Linked DNA regions of Homo sapiens: regions 1, 2, 3 and 5 are each linked to region 4. The links are contacts of gene promoters, found by promoter capture Hi-C in blood cells and fetal thymus (Javierre and others, 2016). All regions are on one chromosome and are shown on one strand. Each heading gives the region's core, a stretch centred on a gene start or on the middle of the fragment in contact. The rest is flanking DNA. Distances are from core to core; before and after follow the strand shown. Region 1 overlaps PCMTD1-DT (PCMTD1 divergent transcript). Region 2 overlaps FNTA (farnesyltransferase, CAAX box, subunit alpha). Region 3 overlaps PCMTD1 (protein-L-isoaspartate (D-aspartate) O-methyltransferase domain containing 1). Region 4 holds the start of PRKDC (protein kinase, DNA-activated, catalytic subunit). Region 5 has its middle 2.5 kb from the start of RB1CC1.

Region 1 (4,921 bases), core at 1,516-4,015, 3.9 Mb before region 4:
AAGATGCTAATAGACCATTAATGCAAATATATGTATTAGCTTATGGTTTTTATTCCTAGCTATTGTTTTTAATTTTTTTTAATAAAAAAAAAATTTTTTTTGGAGACAGGGTCTCACTCTGTTGCCCAGGCTGAAATGCAGTCATGTGAACATAGCTCACTGTAGCCTTGAACCTCTGGGCTCAAGCAATCATCCTGCCTCCACCTCCTGAGTAGCTGAGACTATATGCGTGTGCCACCACATCCAGCTAATTTTAAATTTTTAGTAGAGATAGGGTCTTGCTATGTTACCTAGGCTAGTCTCAAACTCCTGGCCTCAAGTGATCCTCCTGCCTCAGCCTCCCAATGTGCTGGGATTACAGGTGTGAGCCACCATGCCTGGCCCTGGCTACTGTTCAAGTTCAGGATTATCAAAGAAAAAATGTGCCAGACAAGTTAAACAGGCAAGGTAGACTTTATTCAAGACAACTGTAATAAGGGAGAGAGACTGAACTCAACTCTAGATACCTGGGGATTTATAGCCAGTGGGCAAGGTGAGGTGTTAGTGGATGAAAAATTACTAAGGGGAACTTGATTTATTGTTATGGTGTGAACGTCTGTGTCCTCCCTCCCCACCCAAATTCATTTGTTGAAGCCCTAATTCCCACTGTGGCTATATATGGAGTAAAGAAATAATTAAAATTAAAATTAAAGTTAAAATGAGGTAATAAGAATATGGCCCTGGTTCACTAGGATTAGTGTCCTTATGAGAAGAGACATACTCTCTCTCCCTGCTGGTGCACAGAAAAGAGGCCGTGTGAGAACACAGTGAGGAGGCAACCAACTGAACTCAAAAAGAGAGCTCTCACCAGAAACCATCCATGCTGGCAAACTGTCCTTGGCCTCCAGAACTGTGTAAAGATGTCTGTTGTTTAAGCCACCCAGTCTATGGTATTTTGCCATAAGGCAGCCTGAGCAGACTAATACAAGTACCAAGGGTGTGGGGATTCTCGCAAAATCAGGCCCAGCAGGTCAAACATGAAGCCTAGCCAAGAAGAGGGCTGAGAGTAGTGGGACAAAAGTTTGGTCAGGCAGGGTGCAGTGGCTCACGCCTATAAACCCAATTCTTTGGGAGACTGAGGCAGGAGGATCACTTAAAGCCAGGAGTTTGAGACCAGCCTGGGCAACAAAGTGAGACCCCCTATCTGTATATAAAAAAAAAAAAAATTAGCCAGGTTCAGTGGAGTATGCCCGTAGTCATAGCTACTCAGGAGACTGAGGTGGGAGGACCTCTTGAATCCAGAAGTATGAGGCTGCAGTGAGCTGACTGTACCACCACACTCCAGCCTGGGTGGCAAAGTGAGACCTTGTCCCAAAACACACACACACACACACACACATAAATAAAGTTTGGTCAGTCTTTTCTCTTGTTCAAGGAAAGAACAGACATTTTTCTTTCCTCTAAATAGTAAGTCCATTTCTAAGTTGGCTTCCTTTTGTTAATTAAGGAAAAGCTAAATTATTCTCTTGAGATTTGCAGTAAAGACATTTGTTAGATGGCAAGAGCATTTAATGAAGGGTATTCCTATGAAAATAAAAGAAAAACAAAAATTAATTGTTGGAGCAGACTATGAACCCAGCTGGTGATTCTATACTTCAGGTGTGAAGCACCTGTAGAAGATGGAATAAGGATGGCAGTGGCAATCCAACTGCCACTGCAAACCAGTTTCTGGTTTGCAGTTTGAACACTTTGGTGATGACGCAGACCTCAGGGAGGTTTTCGTGAGATTGTCACGATCATGGTTATTTCCTACAGCAGAGTGTGGCAGAGGCAGGAGTTCCAGTGAACTTCCTGAGTGGCCTCCACAGCAGTAGCTCTGGGCATGAAGGATGCCCTAACATGATCTTTTGTGATGATGAGCACTTGGAAATTTATCCTGCAGGATTTCTGCAGATCTAGGAGAAAAGGCTGGCTACAAGACAACCTAGAGTCCCAATAAGAATCTGGATAGGCAGGTTTTAGTTAAGTCAGGAAGGTAGAAGTAAATCAGAAACATTTGGAGAGTTGTAGCCAGATATTAAAGGAAACTAGAAGAATTGAAAATTTGATAAAGACTGACACTATGTGTGAAAGAGCAGAGTCCAGTACCATTTACAAGTAGGCAACAAAACTATGTAGGGTTACAAAGAGGTGAAAAATAGCTCAAAGTCAATGTACAGGACTAGAATCTGGTAACCCACAAGGGGGTGTTAATAGTTTTCTACTGAAACAAAGAACTTGTCTCTACAGTCAGAAACAGTTAATTTTCCCAAGATATATAATAGACTATTAATGCATGTACATGAATTAACTCACAGTTTTTGGCCGGGGGCAGTGGCTCACACCTGTAATCCCAGCACTCTGGGAGGCCAAGGCGAGTGGATCACCTGAGGTCAGGAGTTTGAGACCAGCCTGGCCAACATGGCGAAACCACGTCTCTACTAAACATACAAAAATTAGCTGGGCGTGGTGGTGGGGTTCTGAAATTCCAGCTACTCAGAAGGCTGAGGTAGGAGAATTGCTTGAACCCAGGAGGCAGAGGTTGCAGTGAGCCAAGATTGCGCCACTGCACTCCAGCTTGAGACTCTGTCCCAAAAATAAATAAATAAATAAATAAAAAACCTTACAGTTTTTTATTCCTGAGTATTATTTAAGTTAGGGGACTATAAAATGCACATATTTGTGAAGTATGCGTTTCTGTTTTACAACTTTTATTTTTTATTATTCCTGTTATCTAAAAGGATCTTGAATCATGTTTTGGATTTTGTTTTCTTCTTTGCTACTGCTCCTCTTGCTTACTGACAAAACTTTAAAAACTCTTATCTTGACCATAAGAACTGTTTTAAGTTAGTATCCTCAAAGACTTATCATTACCAAGATTGTGACTAAGGTAGTGGCAAAGGAACTTATCTGCCCATATAAGAATACATTTTTCGTTATTAAAATAAATAATCTCATTGGTATGTGGCTTCTTGTTTGAATATATAACACCGGGACTTTTCATACTCATATTCTGTTCTTCTTGGAAAATGGGAAAAGTACCTGTCCCCCTGCAGGCAGTGTGAGCCATATGAACGTGGACAGAAGTGATGTGTGCCATTTTCAGGCAGGATCACTTATTTGCTAGCATAAGACACTGCAAGAACTCTCTTTCCATCATAACAATAGAAAGCACATGTCAATATGATGGTGTTAGGAGTACTGAGCCAACTCATGGAGGACAGCTGCCCTGGAATACTGTCTGATATATAAACTTTTGCCATGATAGGCTACTGCAATTTTGTGTCATTTGTTAGAGCAGATAATCTAGCCTATCCAGACTGATACAGTTAAATGAGTTCTGTATTAGCAGTGTCCAGGTTTGGATGATAAATTATATATATCTCTCCATATAATTTATATAGATATACATATATATTATATATATAATATCTCTATATAAGATATACTGATATAATATATATAAATAATTTTAATATATAAATTATATAGACAGCTATATAACTAATTTTTTAATGACAAAAATTATAACTACATAATTTATATAAATATATTATAGATATATAAATTATATCTGTATGTATGATATATATTATATATACATTATAATTTTTATATATAAATTATACGCAGAGAGAGATATATATATATAATTTATCATCCAAACCTGGACACTTCTGAGAGTGACATGGAAAACCATTAGTCATTCCATCAGGATAACAGTCATAAACTGGGACTGACTTGAGCAAACCAGGCTGTGTGGTCGTCTGAAGTACGTGGCAAGCAAAAGTAGAGGTGTTGAGAACCCCTGACCACCAGACAGCTTTCCAAGAATATTTTCTCATGACATGTTGGAATGTCATTAAACAACCACAAGAGATTGTTTAAGTTTTAGATCATAAGGTAATATAGCCTAGTCAAAGAGGATAGCTCAGTTTAGAAAATCTGGTAAGCCAAGTATATTCTAATTATTTAAATTTTTAAAAATAATTAATAAATTATTTTTGACTTTGAGCTCATATTTTTTGAAACAAACGAGAAATTTTTCTTTGAGTTATACTCTCAGGTCTCCTATCTACAGGATGATTAAAATATTCTGGAATCTCACATATAGTCAAATCATTGAGGAGGCTCTGTGGGTCATAAGCCATTGGTTGTGAGAGGCTTGTTGTCCTAGCTGGGATGGACCCTTCAGTTCTGGAAGTTCTGCAGATTCGATTCTACATGTGGGGCATGAGGAAATGAGGCAAAGGTGGAAACCCCAAGTGGAAAACTCCTGCCTATGTGTAGCATGCATCCATTTCCCCTGAGGTTTTGCCACCTGCTATGATGCTGTTTGGTAAACAGATTTTGGCTTGTTTTACTGCTCAATGAATCCATATTCCTCTTTTCCATTTATAGTGTCGGGAGGAAATTAGGGTCATTGCTGTACAAGAAAAGTCTGCTTTTTGCCCTGCCAAAAACTTCATTACATCACCAAGGCAAGGAATCACACAATTGGCTATCTGCTAAAATACATTAGGGGAAAAGAAAAAGGTGTAAAATAAAAATACAGTTGCCCCTCGGTATCCATAGGGGGTTGGTTCCAGGACTTCCCACCCTTGGATACCAACATCTGGATGCTCAAATCCCTGATATAAAATACGGTAGTATTTGCATATAACCTATGCACATCCTCCCATATATGATAAATAATGTCTAGATTACTAATAATATCTAATATAATGTAAATGTTATATGAAGTCTTCCTTTCCTGTTTACCTTGTCTGGTGCTTTTGTTTTCTTTTTCTTTTTTGGGGGGGGGATGGAGTGTCACTCTGTCGCCCAGGCTGGAGTGCAGTGGCGCAATCTTGGCTCACTGCAAGCTCCGCCTCCCAGGTTCACGCCATTCTCCTGCCTCAGT
Region 2 (4,458 bases), core at 1,893-4,392, 4.9 Mb after region 4:
CTTGAAGTAAAACATTTAAGCAGGGAATACTGATGATGTGTATTACTTACCACACTGTATAATTGGCTGCATTTAACTCAATAGCATCCCGGGTTAGCTTAAAAGCTCGTTCACTTCTTTCATCACGCTGCAGGACAGCTCGGAAGTAATCATAAACATCTCTAACTAGAGATAGAGCACACAACTACATTAGGACCATCTTACTTAAAATTAGCACTATAATGTATAATGTCACTATACCTATAAAGATATTTTATTGGCCTGTGTATCATTTATACCAACAAGCAAAATAAAGTCAAATGGCTGTGGCCGCCACCCTAATAATGCCCTAGTGCCTCAGCCACAAAAAGCATGGACTATTTATGTATAACTGTATGCTTACTGCTTACGTGTGTGCATGAGTTCATGCCAGATTCCATATCTCCCATAGGCCTTATGTATAAAAGAAAAATTAGGGTTGCATATATTCAAATATATTCATATAGCTGTTTTTCTGACATTTTGATCAGATTTTTAACTGAAAAATATGCCCAAAGGCAGAAAACTCAAACAGTACAAAAAGGTTCACACTAGATTTCCATTCCACTAAATTCCCAAGCCTCCTCCCCAGAAGCAACCATTATTAACTCATTCTAGTGTATCCTTCCAAATATAGTCTATGCATCTACAAGTATATAGCCTAATTCCATCCTTCATTTTTATGCAAACGAGATCCCATCACACTCTGAGCTTTGCATTTTTCACTCGTACATTATTAAAGATAGTGTAAACTAGTACAAATACTTCTACAACAAATCATTAAAATTTACATACTCTTTGACCCAGTAATTCCAGCTCTAGAAAGTTCTCTCACAAATATACTCCCATATGTGTGCAAGTATTCAAGGATATTTATTGGGAGCATTGGATTACAAAAAAAACAAACAAAAGACTGAGGCAGGCAGATCACTTGAACCCAGCAGTTTAAAATTAGCCTGGGCAACTTAGGGAAACTCCGCCTCTACAAAAAATATAGAAATTAATCGGGCGTGGTGATCCAGGCCTGCAGTCACAGCTACTCGGGAGGCAGAGGTAGGAGGATCGCTTGAGCCTGGGAGGTCAAGGCTGCAGTGAGCCATGATCGCAAGCACCGAGCCTGGGTGACAGCACAACACTGTCTCAAAAAAAAAAAAAAAAAAGGAACTGCCAGGTATGGTGGTTTGCACCTGTACTCCCAGCTACTCGGGAGGCTGAGGCAGAAGGACTGCTTGAGCCCAAGAGTTTGAGACCACGCTGGGTAACATAGTGAGAGCCTGTCTCTGAAAAGAAAAAAACAGAAAGGGGTCATTTACAGCCAAGTAGAATATTAAATGTGGGTAATGTGGTGACCCACTACTTGCAATGGCATCTGAAGTGGGATGGATGTTGCAGCACTGATCCCTTGGCCTGTGGGATCTGTGCTAACTCTGGGTAATGTCAGAACTGAATTAAATTGTAGGGCAACTAGTTGGTGTCTACAGAAAATTGCTTGGTGTGAAAAATCCAAACATTTGGTGTCGAAGTATTTTGACTATAGAGAAACAGTTTTTTCCTTTTAGCCTGTAACACTGAAAGTATCAGACACGAATATGAACAATTACTCCTCTTCACAAAATTCTGAGGTATACAAAGTTTACCTAGTTCTAAACACTATCTTTAAAAAGTTGAATTTGAGCAGTGGCTCAGGCCTGTAATCTCAGCACCTTGGGAGGCCGAGGTGGGAGGATCACTTGAGGTCAGAAGCTCAAGACCAGCCTGACCAACATGGTGAAACCCCATCTCTACTAAAAATACAAAAATTAGCTGGGCATGGTGACACATGCCTGTAATCCCAGCTACTCAGAAGGCTGAGGCACGAGAATCGCTTGAACCTGGGAGACAGAGGTTGCAGTGAGCCGAGATCACGCCATTGTACTCCAGCCTGTGCAACAAGAGCGAAAGTCTGTCTCAAAAAAAAAACCAAGCTTCCAAATAATTTCAAATTTAAAACAAAATGGTAACATATTAAATATGTATACAAATGTATATATATAATACATTATCTTACACACACACACACACACACACACACACATAAAACATACACATATGCACATTGATAAAATAAACTGGGAGGCTATCAGGCTGGGATAGCTCCAAAGCCTCAGGTTCCTATGTAAACAACCAAAATCCGATTCACTGTAAAAGGTAAAATGAAACATTATTCTTTTAATTCAAACATTATAAACAGACCAGGCGCGGTAGCTCACGCTTGTAATCCCAGCACTCTGGGAGGCCGAGGTGGGCGGATCACCTGAGGTCGGGAGTTCGAGACCAGCCTAACCAACATGGAGAAACCCCGTCTCTACTAAAAATGCAAAATTAGCCAGGTGTGGTGTCGCAAGCCTGTAATCCCAGCTACTCGGGCGGCTGAGGCAGGAGAATCACTTGAACCCGGGAGGCGGAGGTCGCGGTGAGCCAAGATCATGCCATTGCACTCCAGCCTGGGCAACAAGAGCGAAACTCCATCTCAAAAAAAAAAAATTATAAACAACATATTGTCATGCTCGAAGATTCTCAAACTTTGACTTTTTTAACTCAACATTGTTTCTGAGATCTGTTCATGTTATAATAGATCTAAATCCTCTTAACGGTTATATAGTATTAACTGTATGACAATGATACATTTTATTTTATCCATTTCTCCAAAAGATAGACATATAGCTTCCAATATCTTGCTTTTTCAAAAAATGCTGCAAATTATAGTAGCTAACATATATAGTGCTTACTATGAGCCAGACAGTATTCTACTATTTTATGTAAATAATTTACTACATCTATAGTTACTACCAAGATCCTCATTTTACACAGGTGGAAACAGAGGCACATAGGAGTTAAATAACTTGTCCAAGATTACACAGTCAGTAAAATGTGAAGTTAGAATTTGAACCAGATGGTCTGGCTCCAAAGTCTGTGCTTTTAACCTCCTGTGCATATCTTCTCATGCCATGTGCCAGAATGAACCCAATATTAAATTAGAAGCAACACACTGCTAGGTTGTAAGATAAGTGCATTTTCCAGTTTTAACAGATATACCAAACTACTTTCCAAAATGGCTAAACATTCGAAAAATCCCATATGAAATGTATGGAGCTCTTCATATATCTTAATACCTAATATAATATCAAGACAGTTTTCATTTCTGCCACTTAAATCATGGGTGGAAAATGGAATTCTCATTTTAACCTGTCATTCTTAATGATAAAGGATTCTTCCTATTTTATTGGCCAATGGGATTTTCTTTTCTGTGAATTGCCAGTTCATACCCTTTGTCCATTTTTTGATTAAACTCTCTGTCTCCTTATCCTGTTGTAAAAACGTCTCAGTTTTAATATGGATCCTGTTTAAATGACATACCTTCTTCCACACTGCTGCTTGCTTTTTAACTTGCTCATGGTTTCTTCTGCTGTGTAAGTTTTAAATTGATATATTTGTCTATAAACGGTTGACAGGTCAAACTTATCTTTTCCTTTAGGGTTTCTAACCATGGTGTATGTAAGAATTCACAAAGTTAATTTTTTTTTTTTTTTTTTGAGACAGAGTTTTGCTCTTGTCGTCCAGACTACAGTGCAATGGCGTGATCGTGGCTCACTGCAACCTCCACCTCTCAGGTTCAAGCAATTCTCCTGCCTCAGCCTCCTGAGTAGCTGGGATTACAGGCGCCTGCCACCACGCCCAGCTAATTTTTGTATTTTTAGTAGAGACAGGGTTTCGCCACGTTGGCCAGGCTAGTCTCAAACTCCTAACCTTAGGTGATCTGCCCACCTCAGCCTCCCAAAGTACTGGGATTACAGGCGTGAGCCACCGCGCCTGGCCCAAAATGTTAATTTTATACCTTGCAAAAAGGTTAATTTATCCTCAATGGAAACATATGATTATATTAGTTTCCCCCAACATCTCTGTTATAAGTACTTATGAATCTGAATAAGTTATGGTTTATATTTCTCTGATCACTAGTAAGGTTAATATCTCTTCATAGATATTTCTATTTTGTGAATTGTCTCTTCATATATACTATCTCTCAAAGTATGAGAGTTTTGCATTTCCGTGCAGTTATATATTCTGACCTTCTCCTTAATCGATTCTGAGGTTTACATCTTGCCTAATACGTTCTCCATCCTAAGAATGATAGGGATACAACTCTGCTTTTATCTAAGTGCACAGCCAACTGTTCCAACCATTATTTGATTAATCCACCCTTTTCATAAAGGTATAAAATGTCCTTTTTATCACATATTAAGCTTTCATAGAGTGAGGATCTATTTCTCGAGTCTTTACAAATCTACTTCTGTGCTACTTCCACTTAATCATTAAGTTTAGTAATATATCTGCACACTTAATACGGCAAACCTATCATTATGCTTTTTTAAACATTTATTGTCATTTTATTAGCAGAAAAAA
Region 3 (4,886 bases), core at 307-2,806, 3.9 Mb before region 4:
ATGCAGAAGTTACAGTTTTTTCTTATATCTGCCATTGTGCCCTGTATTGTTTATAGTTTATCTAACTAATAAGTAATTAATTCTTGCTTTATAAAGTAAAAATATAATTCTGTTAAGAATTTTGAATGTAGGATATCTTGGTGATGGGAAGAGACGTTTTCTTTTTGGAATGTTAAAATGCATGCTTATAAAGGAATGAGACTGATTCTCAAACTAATCCATTTGTAGTCTACCTGCCCTTAGCTTTATAAAATATTAAAGTAATCATAAATACTTCTTTGAAGATACAAATTGTAAGTGAGCTTAAAATAATTCACTGACTTTAAAAATAGTTAATATATCACATGTTGCAAATTTTAAGTGATACAAAAAATATATAAACTGAAAATGTATCTTCCTCAGCCTCCCATTTTCCCCCCTGGGATGGGAAGTAGTCACTTACCTCTGGAATGATATAATGGAAACTATTTTTTTATTTGTATGTACAATGAAATATAAATAAATTTTCTTTCCACTTACATAAAGATGAGGTACACTGCTGTTTTTTTCACTTGGATTTTCACATAACCATATATCTCTATGAGGAGATAAAGAACCACTTCATTCTTAAAAAAACAATTTCAGCCTCAGAGTATATTATAGATAGCTACAGCTATAGATTGTATTTCAATTATAATTGATTTAACTATATTCCCTACTAATGAGCATTTAGTTTCTAACTATTACAACCGTTGTGACAACACTTTGAAGGAAGAAAAGTAAAAAGTAGGTGGTCTTTTCTTGTAGGGGAAAATAAAGTTTGAAAGCTGAAATGGGCTTTTTGGTTCCTTTTCTGACCTGATGATTAGTGTGTAAGTGAATGGAGAGAACTGTGGGGTTATGTGAAGACATTTGCTAGAAGCCATAGTTGACAATCGAGTTGGAAGAGTTGGGATGGTAGTGGTGATGGGTAGCAGCTGCCATGACCAATGGTCCACTCTGGGCAAGGGTCAGCCCTGCATGTGTTAGCAGTTCAGTGTTTAGAAATGATACGTGGTATCTGGAGTTTGGTGTCTGGATCTATGGCCTATGCTAGTATATTTAACGTAGGAAACCTATGCAGGGGATGAATTTAGATCCCTTTGTGTCATCTAGAAGGAAATGTTGTGGCTTACAATATTGTATGTGGTTATTAATCTTTTTATTGAAAAATTATTGTATATTCAGAAATAAGATTTAAATTACTAAATTAAATGGAGTTAAACAAGCAGGCCCCCATCATCTGTGTCTGCTCCTCATGGTTTGCTGGGGTAATGGTTTTTTAACAGTTTGGTATGAATGCTTTCAGACTTATGTATAAACAGAAACAATATATTCGTGCATATTAAAAATGTCAGTCAGAATTCTGTTGAATAACAAGTACATGGAATGAATGGTAAAAGTCAGAATCTTTAACAAGAGAAGAAGGTGGTGGTGGGATACCAGGTAATTATATAGTGAATGTTCTTTGATTCCTTTAGATCCAAGGGGGCTGTAAATACACACTGTTAATTGTGTAAACTGTACTACCTATTTAGCCTCTGTAGCTAGTTTATCAGGTTATTTCTACAGATCATTTAAGGTTTCTGAAGCTATATATATATATATACATATATATGTATATATATATTTTTTGTTTTTTTTTTTAACTAGTGGCATATAATTTACTGAATAATGATATATTCTCTTTATTTTCCAGGCATTCTATGCTAAATTTGGGATTTGAGTGTTTTTTTGTTTTCTTTTTTTTGAGACAGGGCCTCGCTGTGTCACCCAGCCTGGAGTGCAGTAGTGCGATCTCGGCTCACTGCATCCTCCACCTCCTGACCTCGAGCAATCCAACCTCAACCTCACCAGTAGCTGGGATTACAGGCATGTGCCACGATGCCCGGCTAATTGTTTTTTTCTTTCATTTTTTGTAGAGATAGGTGTCTCAGTATGTTGCCCAGGCTTGTCTCAAAGTCATGGGCTCAAGCCATCCTCCTGCCTTGTCCTCCCAAAGTGGATTAGAGGAGAAAGCTACCTTGCCCGGCCTCATGTCATTTATTTTTAGGGTGGTATGTGTATGCTGCCTAGGTTCATATGGTTTAGATTTATTTTTAACAGTGGTTCATTTGCACTGACCCATTTCTGAGCTCCTGCGATTCTCTTTGGTCAATTATACTTCCCTAGATATTGTGAACATAATAAGTAAAAGCTCATTTATTTGATTTTGCTTTTTTCCCTGTATAACAGCAGTAGAAATTTATTGTGGAAAGACTAGAAAATATGGATAAAGAAAAGGAGAAACAGGTTAACGGGGATGTTATCACCTGAGGCTCGTATGGTTTTTAATTCTGAGGGACCTCTGTGTTAATGAAAACACCACTAGAAATGTCCAGCTTTGTAAGTCCTTCTGCCATGTAATCCTGTGGCAGATGTATTTGGTGATAGAAGTATGGAAAATGTGAGTGCTTGCATTTTCTCTGACCTGGATGCATCTGTGCTAGGAAGTGGTGTTTTAAGTAACCAAGGTTGTGTTAAGGCCTTGACTTAATGTTATTAGGGGATTTCTACATTTATACTGCCAAGCACATGGGTGTTTAGCTGTTGGTTATGGGAGCCACAGGTGTGCTGGTGGATGGATCAGTCGGTGCTTCTCTGTCACTGCTACTGCGTAAGTAGTGCAGAGGTTTTGTTCTGATTATGTATCATTATATCTTTGTAGTCCATATTTAAAATACTGGGCCTTGAGTAGAAGGAACTATTTAGAAATGTCATAGCTCAAAAAGCAAATGCAAAACAGTCTTTGTTTTAGAAGGATGGTTTATCCCTGTTACTCCTGTAAGTCTCGGTATTCTAAATTTTCATGTTTTCATTGTAGTGTCTTGGCGGCTAGAGCGGATTTTAAATTTTCTGGTCAGTCTTCATACTCAACTGGATAAGAACAAATTTTGGAACATGCAAAGGCAGTCACTCTAATTTTAGTTTCAAGGAAAAGCCTAGCAGTGATATATACTGATTTACCAGGCATTGTAAATCCCATTGTGAAAGAATTATTTTAAATACATCTAAACCGTTTTTAATAGGCTTGACTTTTCCCTGTAAATAGAGTAATTTGAACCTTTATTCTTTTATGAACCAGAGAAATTAGAAATAGATGTAGGCATTTCTACAATGATCTATATAAATATCTGTGAATATAACCATTCATGCAGTTGATTTGGCTTTAAAGAAAAGGGAGGTAATCACCATGGACTTAAAGTAGTTTAATTACCTCATTATTTATGACAAAAAGGCTTTATATAAGCTTTTTTTTTTTTTTTTGTTAAGGACTTGTTCAGTTATCACTGTTTAGTTATCACTGGTTTTATTGTATCTAGGCAGCACAATAAAATTAATTCACTTCACACTAATATATATTTTTGTGTGTACACACACACACACACACACACACACACGTATATCCTTACATATGGCCATTTGTGGTGCACAGCTCAGGAGACACTATTAACATAGAATCTAATATAAATGACATTCCCTTTACTGCTTCAGGAAAACTGACACTTTATGTGGGAATAGTGCTTCCTGGCATTGTGTAGTCAGCATGAGACCCTGTTAAATTTGATACTTTCCACATTTTCACATTTTCGTATAACTTTGCATCTTGTCAAAGAGGTAGGAAAGTATTGTTATTCCCATTTTATAGATGCATGAACTAAGACTCAGAATGACTTCAGTTTCCTCAGTCTGCTTTATTTTCTATAAAATGATGATACCAGACTCAGCAATCAACAGTGTTGAGGGACACAGGGTTTGGTGTCAGATAGATCTAGAACTCAACCTCAGTTTTGCCTCCTACTAGCTGTAAAAGCTTAAGGAAGTTATTTAATCCCTTTCCTTCGTTTCCCATCCCTAAAAATAATGCTGTTACATGAAATTTTATGAAGACTTAAATGAGTTAATATACTTAAAACACCTCAAAGCTTTATGCTGTAAGTGCTCAATTAATGATAGTTGCATTAATAATCAGTAATAAAGGTTATATATTATTTTGTGAGTCGTATACTACTTTTCAGAGATTATGAGGTCAGTTAACACTTGATAGAAAGTGACGGACCTAACCTAGAAGCAATATCCGTTTTAAGTAGAGGCCAAACTTGGACTGATAACCTCATGCTCTCTTACCAATATTGTAGGCAGTGAGTGAGGAGTTAACAATAACAACAAAAGGCCTAGGAAAAGCAAGGAGAATGTGTCCTATATAGTCAGGGACAGACTTTGGAGTCACACTAGACCCACCATAGTTGTGTGTAAAATAAAGCAGATTTGAATCATCTAGTCACACAAAAAAGAAACGAGAAGTTACTGCAGTGAGAGAGCAAAGCAGTTCCAGATGGTGGAATGCTTTTACTGTGTGTGTTGGTCTCTGAGGTGCTCGTGACATACCATTATCATACTGTTCCTCATAATGACCCTCAGCCACTAAGAAATGGTTGAGTTATGCGGGATAATTTGCTAAGACTGTAGAACTAATACACTATATAAAGACTTTCATTACTTTGTTTTTAATCTTTGCAACTTAAAGGAGTATTTTTCAGTTACCAGTAACATTAATTTGTTTTACTCGGTGCTAGATAAAAATGACTAAATTTGAATGTGCACATTATTTCATTTGATTCTTAAAACTAAGTAGGTCATAGAAAGGTTAATGGCCAATGGTAAAATAAAGGCTATGAGTTCAGACTTTCATGCATATATTTGATTCTGGGTCTCTTTCTCATTGTTAACCCAAAGCTTATTTATAAAGGTCAGGGCCTGCTTGTTTGTTTTCATACCCTTTAGTGCCTTCTACTGTGGGAGCATTACGAAAATCAGGTCCTGCTCCT
Region 4 (4,853 bases), core at 2,087-4,586:
ATAGTTTTTTTTTGTTTGTTTGAGATGGAATCTCACTGTTGCCCAGGCTGGAGAGCAGTGGTGCCATCTCGGCTCACTGCACCTCTGCCTCCGGGGTTCAAGTGATTCTATCGCTTCAGACTCCCGAGTAGCTGGGACTACAGGCATGCACCACCATGTCTGGCTAATTTTTGTATTTTTTAGTACAGATGGGGTTTCACTTTGTTGCCCAGGCTGGTCTCAAACTTCCGACCTCAAGTGATCCATTTGCCTCGGCGTCCTAAAGTGCTGGGATTATAGGTGTGAGCCACCACACCGGGCCAAAGGAGATGATACTCAGTTTCTTAAAGTGTTTGCGCATACTATCTTCATTACTGAAGAATTTCTGTTATCTGGAAACATTCTTTCTAGACTGTTACTAAAATTCATCAAGGTCAAAGCTAAATTCTTACCTGTGGGTAAGAGATGAGTTGTCTGTACAAATTTTTGTCAAATGATTTGATGTGTTCACAGTTCACATTTAAAAATGGCTCACCAATAACATTAATCTAGAAAATAAAAATGAACAAGTTATATTTTGCTAATTTAACTATTTTAAAACACGTAACTTGAATTTAAAGAGTATTTGATTACCTCCCCAAGTCGTTGCATGTATAGAGGTTCAGTAATATCTATGCCAACATTTTCTTCTTCTTTAGCCAGAGGGTCAATAAAACGCTGAAGAAATCTCTTTAAGTGGAGAGAAAACTGTATTAGGCATATAGCATTTGGGAACAGGCAACTACTAAAAACACACAAAGTTATGAGTATGTCACTATCAGGAGACAGAAATAAATAATATTTTTCTTCCTTTTTCTTTTCTAAAATTTAATTTGGAGATGGAGTCTCACTATATTGGTCAGGCTGCTATCAAACTCCTGGCCTCAAGTGATCCTCCCACCTTGGCCTCCCAAAGTACTGGGATTATAGGTGTGAGCCACCACAGGTGGCCCTTCTAGTCATTATGGCTACTTAGATATAGATTATAAACACGGTCTCCCAACATTTTCAGAGCCCAAAGTAAGAATTTTAATACATGTAGCTCACCTGAAAGTTTTCTTTGCATGCTGCCACATTTACATCTGTTCCCCAGATCACAAGTTTTTGGCCTAGAGACTGCTCACTTGCCACTATATCTTCTGCTGCTGCCTACACAGAAAAACATGACAGAATCATGAAAACAGAGTTACCCACATGATACCCGCCATAAGATGGTTTCAGGAGACTGCATACTCACCCCGTCAGACTGCAGATCCACTTGCAGGCCCTTCTGTGCAGAGCCCAGGTCAGGCCTCTGTCTCACAGGTGTGCCCCTAACACCACTTCTTGGGGTTCCCTCTACCCGAGAGCTGGGAGTGCCGTATGTCAGTGGTGAACTAACATCAAAGTCAAGAGGGATAGCTATAAAAACAAAATTAGGAAATTCTGGTGGCATATCAAACCTGAAATTACAGCATGTTGTCTGTTGATCTATACCATCTAATCGCAACAGCAAACTGAATATTTATTGCAACCTGCGGTGGCTGAGATTCTGAGCACTCTTAAATGTTCTATTAAAAAAAAGCACCAGAGAAGCTGCTTCCTCTGCTCACTAAGCCCTAAAACTACTATTTTCTGCACTCCGTTCAGCTCCTCTGGTTAAGAACATGCTCAGTCACGTGCAGAGGGGATGCTTTAGGCGTTATGCCAACTGTTATAAAGCCAGTAAACCTGAGCAGATAAAGCATCAGCTGTGTATCAAGCACAGCAAAACCAAGATCTTCAGACACGCACCTGAAGAATGCATTTGGGGAGGGCTGGAAAACAGCACGTCCTGCGCAGCAGGGCTCTGCAGGTCCACTCCAGGCGAGGTTGGCATCGGCTGCAACTCCCCCGTGGAGGTGGAATCCTCGCCTCTACGTCTCTGAGAGGGAGATGACCTGGCATCCTCACTCCGAGCTTGTGTCACACAAAACAGAAAAGACAGCCATTAACTTTCAGGGCCGGCCTTCCTGGATTTGTCTTTTCCTTGGGGCATTATGACTCACCACTGAACCAAACCAAACAGAGGCAAATGGCAATCGAATTAAGCAGCACCCAGGCCACAGCCTGCTGTGGGTGTCTGTGCGCACCAAGCGGCAGCGCCCAGCCCGAGGCTGAGCGCCCGGGTCCCGCGCACCCACCCAGCGCTGCCAGCTGCGGCGAGAGGGCAGACGGGGCGGCGCCGGGGGCTGTAGTGGGCCCGGCTCGGGGGACTCACGCGTCTGGGCGGGGGTGGCCCTTCCACGCCGGCTGCCGCGGCGGCTCGGGGTCGACGCCGGGGACGACATAGTGCTCGGAGTACCTGCGCGACAAGGACAAGCTCGGGCCGGGCCCGCCTCCCGGCTTCCCTGCCCTGCTCCGCAGCGCGGACGTTCCCGTCGGCTCCGCGCCACGCCCTCCCCGCCGGCGCGCGGTTACCGTGGAAAGGCGGCCGCTTGCCGACGACGCTCGCGGACTCCGAGTCCACCTGGCGAGTAGCGCTCCCAAACCGCGAGACCCAGAGTTCCCGCCGGCGGCAAGGTCGTCTCCGCCCCTGGCGGGGCCTCACCAATCACAGCGGCGCTCGTACGTGGCTCCGCCTCCGGGAGGCGCCACTGCGCATCGGCAGGGGGGGACAGTGCCGCTTCTTTCAGCGCCCGTGCGTAAACCAGAAGTAGGCCTCGCTCGGCCCCCCTTGGTCCAGATGGTCTGACCCCCTGCGCGGCAGCGTTTTCGCGGGAAAACTGGGTCCTACAGCACCAGCTCTCGGGGTGTGTTCCTCTAGCGTTGGCTAGGGAGCGTGTGCTTCTTTATCCCTTAGGCGTTTTTGGTTAATAAGGACATTACAGATGCATTTCTCACTTAAAGATTTTTTTTATTAAAAAAAATTAAGGACGGGAGGTGGTGGGGATGGTCTCATTATGTTGCCCAGACTGGTCTCGAACTCCTGCGATCCCCCCGCCTCAGCTTCCTAAAGTGTTGGGACTGCAGGCGGGCATCACCGCCCCCGACCGCGTTTGTCGTTTTTTATCGAGGAACAAACTTGGAACTCTTGACCTAGGCCCCTCGCTTGTTTTATCTGCCTCTGGTATTTATTTAGCCAAGTCCAACACCAAGTAGCCACCCAAACTACCTCCGCAGGTCAGACGTTTTTCCTTAGGTTTCCATGTTGATTCGGGCCAAAGAGGCGCGCTTACTGGCCAGGCCTTCCCGCAGGGGTCCCCGGGAAAGTTCCTGCCGCCGCGCCCCGCAGCCCCGCCTCCGCGCGTAGGGGCATTTCCGGGTCCGGGCCGAGCGGGCGCACGCGCGGGAGCGGGACTCGGCGGCATGGCGGGCTCCGGAGCCGGTGTGCGTTGCTCCCTGCTGCGGCTGCAGGAGACCTTGTCCGCTGCGGACCGCTGCGGTGCTGCCCTGGCCGGTCATCAACTGATCCGCGGCCTGGGGCAGGAATGCGTCCTGAGCAGCAGCCCCGCGGTGCTGGGTGGGTACCGGCCCGAGCTGGGCCGCGGGTGGGTCCTGGCTTCCCGAGTCGTTCTGGAGCCGGGCAGCCCGGCGCTTCTCTGTGTTTAGATGACGGTATTTTGAAGTACAGCAATTAGATTCTTGGGGGAATTTCTGTGTATGTGTATAAAGGGATTTGTCATACTGCTTTTTACCCCCTAGTATTAGAGGAAAGATATTTTAAAGCCAAAGTTGGTGAAAACGACCCCTAATATGGCAATCATTGCTATGCAGAGTGGGGGGCAGGGCAAGAGAAATAATTTTTTTTTTTTTTGAGACGGAGTCTCGCTCTGTCGCCCAGGCTGGAGTGAAGTGGCGCGATCTCGGCTCACTGCAACCTCCGCCTCCCGGGTTCAAGCTATTCTCCTGCCTCAGCCCCCCGAGTAGCTGGGATTACAGGCGCGCGCCACCACGCCCGGCTAATTTTTTTGTATTTTTAGTAGAGATGGGGTTTCACCATGTTGGTCAGGCTGGTCTCGAACTCCTGACCTCGTGATCCCCCCGCCTCGGCCTCCCAAAGTGCTGGGATTACAGACGTGAGCCACCGGGCCCGGCCAAGAGAAAGTATTTTCTTTCACCTGAATCTCGCCTAATCCCACCAGTACCTTTTCCAAACCCCTCTATTTGCCGTTCCTACTTTGAGAAAAATTGAAGAAATGTAATTGAAGTCATGTTCTTTTAACTCTTTAGCAATGCCTGGGTGGGAACTTTTTCCCCTTTGTAGTAAAAGTGCCTCTTTTTAGCATTTTAAATATTCAAATACTTAATTATGTGGATCTCCTGTATTCCTTCTTTAAAACACGAGTATGCAGACCTTGATGTTGTGCCCTATTAAAAGGTGAGATTTTCTTCCGGAGGGTCTAGTAGTGAATATGGTGTAGGAATAACTTAAACAGTTTAAACTAGATGCTATATGTGGCACGGTGCGGTGGCTCATGCCTGTAATCCCAGCACTTTGGGAGGCTGTGGCAGCTGGATCACCTGAGGTCAGGAGATGGAGACCAACCTGACCAGTATGGTGAAACCTTGTCTCTACTAAAAATACAAAAATTAACTGGGCATGGTGGCGAGCGCCTGTAGTCCCAGCTATTCGGGAGGCTGAGACAGGAGAATGTCTTGAACCCAGGAGAAGGAGATTGCAGTGAGCCGAGATTGTGCCACTGCACTCCAGCCTGGGCAACAGAGCACGACTCCGTCCCAAAAAAAAAAAAAAAAAGATGCTATATACATGTATCCTATATGTACTCTATCTGTTGTCAAGAATATATTAACAATGGGGAAATATCAAACAAAAAACTAACATTGCGTGATTACTTTCTCTTCTCAGGGTTTCA
Region 5 (4,651 bases), core at 520-3,019, 4.8 Mb before region 4:
GTACTTTGGTAAAGAATTAATATCATATAAATTTGTTACTGCAATTATATTTATTTTTTTTTTCTTTTTTTGAGACGGAGTTTCGCTCTTGTTGCCCAGGCTGGAATGCAATGGTGCGATCTCGGCTCACTGCGACCTCCGCCTCCTGGGTTCAAGTGATTCTCCTGTCTCAGCCTACTGAGTATCTGGGATTACAGGCATGCGCCACTGGCTAATGTTGTATTTTTAGTAGAGACGGGGTTTCTCCATGTTGGTCAGGCTGGTCTCGAACTCCTGACCTCAGGTGATCCACCCGCCTCAGCCTCCCAAAGTGTTGGGATTACAGGCATGAGGCGTGAGCCACTGCACCCAGCCTGCAATTATTATTATTCTTCTTTTTTGAGATGGAGTCTCATTCTGTCTCCCAGGCTGGAGTGCAGTGGCATGATCTTGGCTCATGGCAACCTCCGTCCCCAGGTTCAATTGATTCTCCCACATTAGTCTCCTGAGTATCTGGGACTACAGTTGGGCGCCACCATGCCTGGCTAATTTTTGTATTTTTACTAGAGACAGGGTTTCACCATGTTGTCCAGGCTGGTCTCAAATTCCTGAGCTCAAGCAATCTGCCCACCTCAGCTGGTATTACAGGCGTGAGCCACTGCACCCTGCCTTTGTTACTGCAATTGTTTTGAATGGTCCCCTTTACAAGCCTATGAGATATTTGATGGCAGGAATTTTCCACAGTAACTTTCTAGTCAACCATCAATATAAATATAAAAATTTGCAGAATGTATTACATACAGCAAATCTTGTATTAATTGCTGACTGCCAAGCTCTCCATAAAGTTCCAGGAATTTAAAAATTAATAATGCATAGTTCTTAATCTTAAGAGTTTCACAGACTAAGAGGGGAGAGAAAAATTTACAGTTGTGAGATACAGAGCAAAGCTTAATAGAAGAGTGGAAACTCTAGAAGTTAGAAGCTGCTAACATCCAAGCTGTGTTTTAAGGGATGACTTTAAAGGTGAACAAGTGGGGAAGAACATTCCTGGATGAGGAAACTCATATAGAGCACATATAAAGGGGAGAAAAGTGCTGGGAGATACACTGGAGAGATGGGTTGATACCTTATCATGGAGAGACTTTCATGCTAGGTTAAGAAGTTTACCCATGCCCAGGGCCGGGCACAGTGGCTCATGCCTGTAATCCCAGCACTTTGGGAGGCCAAGACGGGCGGATCACGAGGTCAGGAGATCGAGACCATCCTGCCTAACATGGTGAAACCCCGTCTCTACAAAAAATACAAAAAATTAGCCGGGCGTGGTGGTAGGCGCCTGTAGTCCCAGCTACTTGGGAGGCTGAGGCAGGTGAATGGTGTGAACCCAGGCGGTGGAGCTTGCAGTGAGCCAAGATCGCGCCACTGAACTCCAGCCTGGGTGACAGAGAGAGACTCCATCTCAAAAAAAAAAAAGTTTAAATTGTATCTAGTATACAAAACAAAACCAATGAAAGTTGTTAGGCAGGGAAGAGATTTGATTAGACTGGTCTTGGATGGAGTAAATAATGGAGATGGATAGGAGGTCAATTCAGGTATAAATTGAGGGCCTGAACAAGTTGTGGGGTACTGTCAAATGTTTGTTGAGTGCATACCATTATATACCAGGTACAGTACATCTTTTAAAAAGGAGCTTATAGTCAGCATGTTAGATGACACTGAAAGATACAATGTGAGAATCTAAAGAAATTACAAGCATGTGGCCAGGTGCTGTGGCTCACTCCTGTAATCCCAGCACTGTGGGGGAGGCTGAAGCGGGTGGATCACTTGAGATCAGGAGTTCGAGACCAGCCTGGCCAACACGGTGAAACCCCATCTAATAAAAGTATGAAAAGTAGCCGGGAGTGGTGGCAAGTGCCTGTAATCCCAGTTACTAGGGAGGCTGAGACAAGAGAATCGTTTGAACCTGGGAGGTAGAGGCTGCGGTGAGCAGAGATGGTGTCACTGCACTCCAGCTTGGGCAACAGAGTGAGACTCTGTCTCAAAACAAACAAACAAACAAACAAACAAACAAACAAGCATGGTAGGGAATGACTCCCAGAGTAGGTGATATTGAAGTTGAGAACTGAAGGAAAAATAGGATTTTAAAGATCTGAACTGATTTGAAGTACTTAGGGTATTTATTGTACATCCTATATAATCCCTCCATACTCCTAAAGAAAACTGTTTTCTTTTGCCCTCACTGTAAATCTACTGAAGCATCTAAAATAGTTATTAAATTTAAAAAAACAATAATGTGATGAGGCCAGAATTAGGTTTCTCTCTTCTGTTCTCTCCCACGGCACATTACCTTTGCATCATTCGCACACTATTATAATTATCTGAAAATTTGGAAGAGGTCCAAAGAATGGACAGATATTTAGGAGCGCCAGGAAGGAAACAGCACAAAAGGGAAGGAGGAGTATAAAAGTTAAATAATTTAAAATGGCGAATGCTTTAGAAAGTTCAAGTAAAATCTTAGTACTGTAATTTACTGTAATTTGGAGGTCCTTGTTAATGATCTGTTTGCAAGTTAAGTAAGAAATGCACAGTAGGCCAAAAATGAGATTGGACTGAGGACTTCCTATCAGAAAGCTTGGTTGAGAAGTGATGCTACAGAATTTTGTTTGTTCTTTTTTTTGTTTTATTAAGGAAGGGAGAATAGAGGGTGTCCAATAGGCAACAAAAGTAACTTTTCAAGACCTACTACCATGGATACATGTATTAGTAACTTATAAACAGTATTTCCTCTAGATATTTGCATATATATAATAGAATTAATGTTAGTACATTTTCACTTATCCCTAGGAAAGAATTACTGATGTTTGTTAAGAGTCTGTTAAGAATATACAAACTCTTAACATTTACACTGGAGGTGTATAAGGTATGAACCAGTCGTTTCTGGTAATTTATTGCAACCTGTGATTAAGAGAGAAGGTTAGGACTGAATTAATTCATTTTCCAAAGAAAAAAGTCAGACAACATTTATAATTTACCAGATTATCACTGGCATAGTTCAGAAATTTTTTTTTATTTTTCAGACAGGGCAACAATCTGTTGTCCAGGCTAGGAGTGCAGTGGTGCCATGATGGTTCACTGCAGCCTCGACCTCCTGGGCTCAACTGATTCTCCCACCTCAGCCTTCTGAGTAACTGGGACCACAGGTGTGCATCACCACGCCCAGCTAATTTTTGTATTTTTTGTAGAGAAGGGGTTTCACTACGTTGCCCAGGCTGGTCTCCAACTCCTGGGCTCAAGCAATCCTCCTGCCTCGGCCTCCCATAAGTGCTGGGATTCCAGGTGTGAGCCACTGCACCGAGCTCCAGCAAGATTTTTACATTCTAAATTGGGTTATATTTGTAATAATGAATGTCACTAATAAGAGGAAGTGCAAGTACCAATACGTTCTTTACAGGCCTCATACTGCAGTTTTTCTTTTCTTTCTTTTTCTTTTCATTCTTGGTCATACTGCCATTTTTCTTAGCCAATTTTCTGGCCAAACTCCTCCTCACCACTTATTTTCTGTGTGCTGATGACTATGCTTTACTACTAAATTTGGCTCTTTTGTCTTGCCAGTTCACACCTTCCCTTAAGGCATAATAACCATTTACTACTTAATTTTCGCTTTTCTCCTCTATCTTGCTGGGGTGGTGTAATAAAATTCCAGCTTAACCAATAAGTAAAATGGCTTGCCAGTGATGATAAAGACCACATTTGTTTGGGATATGTAGCAGCACAAATTTAAAAGTAAATAAATAAAACAAGCCCATCTCAATCCTAACTTACAGATACTGGTCAGTGTGACTGAAAACTGAAATTGTTCATGCTAACCAACGTTTTTCAGTTTCCACCTAACATTTTGTTCAGTTTGGTGCCCTCTTGTGCCTCCTATTTTTACAAACACAACTCAGAATTCCTGATGACTTTAGAGAAGGCACCTCCAAGTTTTCACTCATACCAGATATTCCTGGATATAACAGGAATTTGAGAACTATTATGTAATTATTCTACGTGTAACATCTGCTCATCAGATTTTAATATTCAAGCCTCGTGGCTTCAAGTCATTGCCTGTGACTGATCATCTTCACAAATGCAAGAGTCCCCTGAAACTGTCTCCCAACCATTAGGGTGCTCATGCTAACCCCTAACCCACTAGACCCACTACAAGATTCAGTATTTGTAAAGCTGAAAACGTGGTTGTGGCGTTTACATTTTCATTCCGATTGGCCTAGGCTTCCCTCTCTTCTCTCTTGCATGTTTTCTTGCCTTACCTGGTCTGAGAAATGGTGCCGCCCCACCCTTGCAGAGTTAACAGGGGGACGCTTGCCAGCTGCGTGCAGTCCCGGCGGTCCGGATATGCGGGGAGGTGGCGGCAGGAACGCCTGGGCCAGGCGCTGGTACGTTATCCTGTTACAGACCTTGGCCTAGTCCGCAGGTTGCCCCTGGAGAGGCGACGGGGACACCAGACCCTCGATTGGCTCCGCTCCTCCGCGACAGGCTGAGGGGAACAAGCTCTCTTTCGCCTGGGGACGATCCAGTGTTTGGTGGGTCGACCTTAGTCAGGGCCTAGCTGTCGCAAAGAAGGTCAAATTCACCTTGGGAAAGTACGCACCGGGACGGCAGCTAGCACCATAACAGG

The links. The method cuts DNA at HindIII sites, captures the fragments that hold promoters and counts their contacts. A CHiCAGO score of 5 or more calls a contact.
Region 1: a fragment that was not itself captured here is called in contact with the fragment with the promoter of PRKDC in region 4 in 1 of 17 cell types (naive CD8 T cells); the score reaches 8.8 in naive CD8 T cells.
Region 2: a contact is called between a fragment that was not itself captured here and the fragment with the promoter of PRKDC in region 4, in 1 of 17 cell types (non-activated CD4 T cells). The highest score is 5.3, in non-activated CD4 T cells.
Region 3: a contact is called between a fragment that was not itself captured here and the fragment with the promoter of PRKDC in region 4, in 1 of 17 cell types (naive CD4 T cells). The highest score is 5.2, in naive CD4 T cells.
Region 5: a fragment that was not itself captured here is called in contact with the fragment with the promoter of PRKDC in region 4 in 1 of 17 cell types (non-activated CD4 T cells); the score reaches 5.3 in non-activated CD4 T cells.

What each region holds. Positions count from the first base shown.
Region 1 is chr8:51,905,687-51,910,607 of GRCh38, reverse strand. The region is part of intron 1 of PCMTD1-DT (PCMTD1 divergent transcript); the gene reads right to left. Among named protein-coding and RNA genes, the nearest start is that of PCMTD1-DT, 8.8 kb to the right of the region's middle. The HindIII fragment of the contact is 5,663 bases long and covers 1-4,921 here.
Region 2 is chr8:43,059,808-43,064,265 of GRCh38, reverse strand. It overlaps FNTA (farnesyltransferase, CAAX box, subunit alpha), which reads right to left. Exons shown (of 9, transcript NM_002027.3): 3 at 51-165. Among named protein-coding and RNA genes, the nearest start is that of FNTA, 5.7 kb to the right of the region's middle. The HindIII fragment of the contact is 2,316 bases long and covers 1,985-4,300 here.
Region 3 is chr8:51,888,438-51,893,323 of GRCh38, reverse strand. The region is part of intron 1 of PCMTD1 (protein-L-isoaspartate (D-aspartate) O-methyltransferase domain containing 1); the gene reads left to right. Among named protein-coding and RNA genes, the nearest start is that of PCMTD1, 8.2 kb to the left of the region's middle. The HindIII fragment of the contact is 3,507 bases long and covers 1-3,309 here.
Region 4 is chr8:47,958,619-47,963,471 of GRCh38, reverse strand. PRKDC (protein kinase, DNA-activated, catalytic subunit) reads left to right here and starts at 3,336. Exons shown (of 86, transcript NM_006904.7): 1 at 3,336-3,499. The coding sequence starts at 3,346. MCM4 (minichromosome maintenance complex component 4) reads right to left here and starts at 2,531. Exons shown (of 17, transcript NM_182746.3): 1 at 2,458-2,531; 2 at 2,258-2,341; 3 at 1,792-1,956; 4 at 1,256-1,419; 5 at 1,066-1,167; 6 at 613-708; 7 at 432-527. The coding sequence starts at 2,327. RefSeq lists silencers at 2,098-2,497, 3,168-3,467, 3,478-3,527 and an enhancer at 3,708-3,867. The HindIII fragment of the contact is 8,899 bases long and covers 1-4,853 here.
Region 5 is chr8:52,714,623-52,719,273 of GRCh38, reverse strand. No RefSeq gene overlaps it. Among named protein-coding and RNA genes, the nearest start is that of RB1CC1, 2.5 kb to the right of the region's middle. RefSeq lists enhancers at 4,275-4,324, 4,345-4,651. The HindIII fragment of the contact is 1,681 bases long and covers 929-2,609 here.